Regions from separate parts of the Homo sapiens genome. Here region 1 is linked to region 2. Evidence: promoter capture Hi-C in 16 types of primary human blood cells and fetal thymus (Javierre and others, 2016). All regions are on one chromosome and are shown on one strand. The core of a region is centred on a gene start or on the middle of the fragment in contact, and the rest is flanking DNA. Distances in the headings are between cores, read along the strand shown. Region 1 overlaps STT3A (STT3 oligosaccharyltransferase complex catalytic subunit A). Region 2 holds the start of NCAPD3 (non-SMC condensin II complex subunit D3).

Region 1 (3,543 bases), core at 106-2,605, 8.6 Mb after region 2:
AACAGAGTCAGCATTATGGAGTCTACTACGGAAGCCAAATGGCTTAAGAATTTTAAAATAAAAAAAAATTTTTTTTAAATCAACAAATAATTGCTGAGTACATTCCTGGTAGGAAAAACTAACCGTTTTGGAATGTTTCATGTAGTTTTTTTTTCCTCTCCCTTACATTGTGAGGACTTCAAAATCCAAACCTCACATTTTGCATTTTAAATGTTTTTTTCTTTATGTTGCAATTTACATTTCACTTTCAACTGTACTCTCATAAGGACAAACAGTTGCTAATGATAAAAAACACATATTGCAGAAAGGGGTTGGAGTGAAGCCAATTAATTTGGCCCAGTAAAAGCTGTCTTCACCTTCTGGCTCCCTGCCTTTCTAAGGCTCTGTCCCCCACCCTCCAGCATCGATTAGAGAGGCTCAATAACATTCATTCCCAAGCCTCCTGTCACCCCAAATCCTTCACCTTGAGCTCTTTGGTAAGGTGGTACGTGACGATGGTGGTGAAGGAGGAGAAGAGAGGGGCCAGGAACACACAGACATTCCGAATGTCGATGGTGATGTGGAAAAAATGGAGTACATGGTAGATTGCAGCAGAGGTGATCATTAAACCTGTAACAGGAAGAAGAAACTCCATTAGGTTGTCTTACCAGAACTTAAGGGAAAAAGAAAGGGAAAATCCCAGATACAATAAAGTGACTATGTAAGTCTTGACAAATCACCAGAAATACTAACATAGCAACTGCAGTAAGCCTATAAATTTCTCCCCTAAGGATTCAATCAGAAGTCTAGAATGTATAAAAACCACCCATCTCCACTCTACTACAAATGTACTCCTGTTTATGTAAGATGCACTTTTAGGAACCTGTAATCAGGATGAAATTACAAGTGTCACAAGACAAAGCTATTAGAAATAAAAGAAACTGGTTCTCTAGCATACAAATATTTCTGTTTTTTTTTTAAAAAAAAAAACACATCTGGTCTCCTCACCTGGGTAAATTGTTCCTCCAATGATTCGTCCCAAAGGGTACCAGGCTCGGTCATCAAACCAGTTATGGAATTTATAAAACCCCTCCTCAGCCAGGAACCTGGTAGTCCGATAATTAAAGTACCTATAGCAAGAAATAAACTTTGTTGTAAATTTGTGGTGAATTTTGCTCCTCAGGATACACCATTGAGAAATTCAGCATTACTCAATGAAAAATCAGTTTAACATCAGATATTATGCCATGAAAATCATTTTACACTACCATAAGTCTGTTTACTTCTATCTCCATGCTTGTCTCAACTAAAGCACTGCTTTTCTCATAAGGAAATGAGCCGGGTGCAGTGGCTCATGCCTATAATCTCAGCACTTTAGGAGTCCGAGGCAGGTGGATCACAAGGTCAGGAGTTCGAGACTGGCCTGACGAACATGTTGAAACCCCATCTCTACTAAAAATACAAAAATTAGCTGGGCACGGTGGCATGTGCCTGTAATCCCAGCTACTCAGGAGGCTGAGGCAGGAGAATCGCTAGAACCTTGGAGGCAGAGGTTACAGTGAGCCGAGATTGCCACTGCACTCCAGCCTGGGCAACAGAGCAAGACTCCATCTCAGAAAAAAAAATAAATAAATAAAAAGGAAATGAAACTGGAGCCTAACATTGTAACAAAGCAATCAAATGGGATACTTCAACAAGCTGACATGTGGTAGGCATTAGGACCAGTCAGAGAATTCAAGCACCATGAAGACAAAGCCACTGAGATGTGGGCACCAATAGATTTTGGCTTTCTTATTTATTTTTTTTTTTGAGACAGAGTTTCGCTCTTGTTGCCCAGGCTGGAGCACAATGGCACGATCTCGGCTCACTGCAACCTCTGCCTACGGAGTTCAAGCCATTCTCCTGCCTCAGCCTTCTGAAAGTAACTGGGATTACAGGCGCTCGCCACAATGCCCAGCTAATTTTTGTATTTTTAGTAGAGGCAGGGTTTCACCATATTGGCCAGGCTGGTCTCAAACTCCTGACCTCAGGTGATCCACCTGCCCCAGCCTCACAAAGTGCTTGGATTACAGGTGTGAGCCACCATGCCTGGCCAGATTCTGGCTTTTAAGTGACAGGAACATATTTTTAAAAATCTATACTGCACACAAAGACACATGAATAATTTCCAGTGATGAGAATCTTTAAAGATGTTGGTATACCATCATATGCAGGATGAAAAAATTTTAACCTACTTCATAACACAACTTTCTTAATCAGTGTTTAAACTTTTAACAAGGTCTACTCATGTGGTTATCTAAAATGCTTCTTATGTCACCTATATAGAAGCATAAAAATATAGATTACAGCCAGGCATGGCAGCTCATGCCTGTAAGCCCGGCACTTTGGAAGACTGAGGCAAGAGGATCGCTTAAGCCCAGTTCAAGACCAGCCTGGGCAACACAGTGAGACTCTGTCTCTACAAAACATTTTTTAAAAATTAGCCAGGCATGGTGGCACACACCTATAGTCTCAGCCACTCAGGAGGTTGAAGTGGGATGACTGCTTGAGTCCAGGAGGTCAAGGCTACAGTGAGCCATGATCACAACACTGTGCTCCAGACTGGGCAACAGAGCAAGACCCTTTCTCAAAAAAAATATAGAAAGATACACAGATACATAGACAACATGAAAAATATTTGACATAAAATGCTTAAGAGCTTTAAATGGAAAGATAGTTCTTTAGGCCCAAAATATGTAAGTCCTTAAGTTTCTTATTTAAAAAGAAATAAGGCTGGGTGAGGTAGATAACACCTGTAATCCCAATACTTTAGTAGGCCAAGGCAGGTGGATCACTTGAGCTCAGGAGTTCAAGATCAGCCTGGGCAACATAGAGAGACCCTGTTTCTAAAAAAAAATACAACAATCAGCAGGACTTAGTGGCACACGCCTGTAGTCCCAGCTACTCAGGAGGCTGAAATAAGAGGATCACCTGAGCCCAGGGAGGTTGAAGCTTCAGTGAGCCCTGATCATGCCATTGCACTCCAGCCTGGTGACAGAGCAAGACCCTGTCTCAAAAAATAAAATAAATAATAATAATAATAAGGCCAGGCGCAGTGGCTCACTCCTGTAATCTCAGCACTTTGGGAGGCCGACGCAGGTGGATCACCTGAGGTCGGGAGTTCGAGACCAGCCTGACCAACATGGAGAAACCCTGTCTCTACTAAAAATACAAAATTAGCCAGGCGTGGTGGCGCATGCCTGTAATCCTAGCTACTTAGGAGGCTGAGGCAGGAGAATCGCTTGAACCCGGGAGGCAGAGGTTGTGGTGAGCTGAGATTGTGCCATTGCACTCCAGCCTGGGCAACAAGAGCAAAACTCCATCTCAAAAAAAATTAATAATAATAACAAATAAAAATAAATAAGAGGCCGGCGTAGTAGTTAATGCCTGTTATCCCAGCACTTTGGGAGGCAGAGGTGGATGGATCGCTTGAGCACAGAAGTTTGAGACCAGCCTGTGTAACATGACAAGACCCAATCTACAAAAAATACAAAAATTAGCCAGGCGTGGTGGCGCGTGCCTGTA
Region 2 (3,563 bases), core at 65-2,564:
GCAAGGCTCACCTTCCCGGAGACCGTCTCCCCGTCGTAGAAGAGGAAATATTTCTCCTTCTTCCCGTCCTCCGTCTTGTGCTCGGCCCGCTTCCTACTCTCTGCATCGTTCAGAAGGATTTCCACCTCCACGCTCTGCCCGAAGCCGAAGAAGCTCATCGCACCGCCGGGCCGGGCGGGTCTCGGTAAGGACCGCTCCCTCGCACCGGGGCGCGGGCTGCCCTAGGTAAAGAAGGCCAGAGGGCCCGATGCGCGAGCGCGCTCGGCCGCCGCGGGGCTGCCTGGCTCCGCCGCTGCCGCCGGGCAGTGGGCGCCGACGGACAGCCGGCTCCACGGGGGAGGGGCACGGCCGGGGGAGGCTGGCGGCTGCGGGCTGCGGCGCCCGAGCAGCAATGCACCGAGGAGCAGTGCCCTCGGCCGAGCCAGTCCCAGCCAGTCCCGCGGCCGGTGGCAGTGGGCGGGCGAGGGTCGGCCGTGCAATGCTGCGGGGGGCAGCCGCACAGAGCCGGGTGTGGGTGGCCTGCGCCTGCCGGGTGGGGTCCAGCGCCGAGCAGCGCTGCGAGCTGCCCAGCCTCCGGCGGTGCAACGCACCGAGGCGCTTCGGCGGCTCCGGGCGGGGGAGGGGGCGGGCGAGCTCCAGCCCGGATGCGCTGGAGCAGCGGCGCGCAGGCGCACCCCCTAACGCTCCTGGGACTCCCGGCAGCCCGGAGGAGAGCTCGCTGCGCATGCGCAGGGAGAGCGCGGCCGGCGCTCCAGCGGTCGGCATGGCAGCTGCTACCTCGCTGGGACAGGCTCTGGGCCCACGCGTGCCGCGCAGTCCCTACAGAACTGCAGTTGTCTTGTCTTCTCGGAGTGCTTTCGGCTACTTTTCCCTTATTACTTTAGCTCGATACACGTTGGGCTGCCTTTCACATTCGGATATTACGCTGTTCGAGTGCTGACGGGAAAGGCAGCCCTTTGACACGCACGCGAAATGTCGCCTGACGAGGGCAAAGGTGACAGTTACTACCGGAAGTACCCTATCTCAGATACCCTTTAGATTTTCCCCCATTGAAGAAAAACGAGGCGGGAAAAACGCTGTTAGGGTTTAACTCAGGCCCTGGCTCCTTCTCGAACGAATTAGCGGAACACCCGCAGGAGCCTTGTTTGGCTTCCACTTTTCGGCCCGCCCAGTTCTCTGAGCGTGCGGCGGACGACGCCGGTGATTGGTTGAGCGAATGGAAACGGCTCGGCGCGGTGGTTGGCCAGTGGGAAATTCTGTACGTTGTGATTGGTCCACAGGAACGACTCGGCGCGCGCGCGGGAGCGAGCTTTGAAAGTTGAGCACGGCGGCGGCGAGCCGGTGCCCTGGGATCATGGTGGCGTTGCGGGGCCTTGGTAGCGGCCTGCAGCCCTGGTGTCCGCTGGATCTTAGACTCGGTGAGCAGATGCAGCCGGGAGGCCCGGGGGCCAGGGCGAGGGTCCTATGCGTCCCCGACGATGCCTAAGCCCGGGCCGGGGTGCCGGTGGGGGCGGGGTGGGGGCGCCCGGCTGTCGGCGGTGCCTGGGGTCCCCAGGGCCGTGCCACGCCAGGATTGCGGCTAGCCAGGTTTCCCGTGGGGGCTCAAGCCGGCCAGGCCACCCTTAGAATAAGCGAATGTTGGCCAGTCTCTTCTAGCGCCTGTGCATCTGTTTTCTCGGCCTTCCCCTTCTTCCTGTGCGTGTCTTCGTGCACCTATCTATTCTTACCTATTAAGATGGTTTTAAATTGCAAATCTCTTTCTTCCGCCAGACTTATTTCTTGAACTTCATGTTCATAGGTTCCACTGGATGTCTCACATGCAGACATCATCAAACGTCACATGAGTGAAAATGGGATTCCCAAAGCCTGCTAATGGCACCATCCAAGCCACCAACCCAGGAGTCATGGCATTTCTGCTTCCCCTTTCATGCCCACTACCACTGTCCTGCCTCTGAGGTGTCTCAGGGCAGCCCCGCTCCATTCCTGATGCTGCTGCCTTCATCATAGCCTCGAGCAATTGCAGGAGTATTTTAGCTGCTTTCTGATGTTAACTGTGCCAGCCCATCCCCCACACTTTTGCAGAACGACTTTTGAAAACACAGCTTTGAATGTGTCAAGCCTGTACACCTTTAATGTTTCCCCTTTGTTTCCTAAATAAATGACCACATCCTTGGCATGCTTTATAAGAGCTGCCATTCTCTCCAGTTTGATTTTCCAAGAGCATAACCTTTGGAGTCGGACACACTTGGATTGTTCCCTTGGCTCTACCCCATAGCATCCATGTATTACCGTGCAGGTTGTTTATCCTTGCTAAACCCCTGTTTTCTGATCTGTCAAATGGGGAGTACAATATCTACCTCACAGGGGTTTTTGTAAAGATAAATTTGTACTTGCCACATAATAACTGCTGAACAGATACTAATACCCACAAGCAAACACTGTAACAATTTTGTTCATTTAGAAACACTTTAATTTCTTTCCCTTTGTGTGCTTTGTTACACTGTGCTTGCTGGGAGGCACTTTTCTGCATTTATTTGCCTGGCAAAACTCTTACATTCAGGTCCAATTGAAGAATCATCTTATTCCTCTCCCTCCTCCCCCAGTACTATTCCCTATTAAGCTCTGTAGCATTTTACATTTTACATATCTATTATTTTAACACTCATCCATAGCAAAAATAATAAATACCATCTATTGACTGTTTTTTATGTGGCTAGCACATTGTTAGGGCCTTTATACACATTATGTTTCACAAAAATCCTGTATTTCCAATGATGAAGGAGAGACTAATTATGTGTAAGTGATCAAGTCAGGATATTTGCCTCGTTCTGACTCAAAATTCAGTGGCCTCTCTTCTATCATAGGCTGCTTTTTTTGGTATCCTAAGTGTGAAATGTTGAGATCTTTGTGGACAAGAACCCTCTAGTATTCATCTTTATATCCCTAGAAGTATAAGTGGCTTCCCTAGTATTTTCTCAAAGTGTTTGTTGAGTGAATAGGTGATGTATTTCTTCCTCTTCTTCCATCCTAAGTGAAGTAGCAGAGCAGAAGTTACCTGCATTCGACAGCTGAGAAAATAGGTAGTGAGAGATTTGAATAGTGTAAAGATACTGAGGGAAAAAGACTAACTCAGTGTCTCCTATACTCTCACTCAACAATCAACACTGAAGACTTCTGTGACCAAATGGTAGATAACAGGGCCAGTTACTGCCATCCAAATTAGATTTGATGGTATTTACAGTAGGGAACTGTCATAAGCAAAACCAAAAGAAGGAGTGAGATAACTTTTGCTGTGGTCTATAATGACCTTTAAAACATTACTGGAAATTTGGAAAGAAACAATTGTATTTTTCAGATCTTCTTTCAGGCAGCATATTCCATGTCTTTGGAAGGAATGCTGTGCATAGCCACTTAGGGTACAGAGACCCCCTCCTTCAGGGTCAAGTTCAAGTGACAAAAGATGATGACCAGATTGTATTCTAAGGATGGAACTAGTTGAGTGTAAGGCCTTTCATTTTCATTTGCCGAGTGCAGTGTAATGCTCCCATCTCTGTTTTTTCCTT

What was found. The method cuts DNA at HindIII sites, captures the fragments that hold promoters and counts their contacts. A CHiCAGO score of 5 or more calls a contact.
Region 1: a fragment that was not itself captured here is called in contact with the fragment with the promoter of NCAPD3 in region 2 in 1 of 17 cell types (monocytes); the score reaches 9.7 in monocytes.

The regions. Positions count from the first base shown.
Region 1 is chr11:125,599,869-125,603,411 of GRCh38, reverse strand. STT3A (STT3 oligosaccharyltransferase complex catalytic subunit A) reads right to left here. Exons shown (of 18, transcript NM_152713.5): 4 at 988-1,109; 5 at 464-609. Among named protein-coding and RNA genes, the nearest start is that of STT3A, 8.8 kb to the right of the region's middle. The HindIII fragment of the contact is 3,235 bases long and covers 1-2,972 here.
Region 2 is chr11:134,221,718-134,225,280 of GRCh38, reverse strand. NCAPD3 (non-SMC condensin II complex subunit D3) reads left to right here and starts at 1,314. Exons shown (of 35, transcript NM_015261.3): 1 at 1,314-1,418. The coding sequence starts at 1,355. It overlaps VPS26B (VPS26 retromer complex component B), which reads right to left and starts at 610. Exons shown (of 6, transcript NM_052875.5): 1 at 1-610. The coding sequence starts at 158. RefSeq lists enhancers at 1-33, 824-873 and a silencer at 234-703. The HindIII fragment of the contact is 9,666 bases long and covers 1-3,563 here.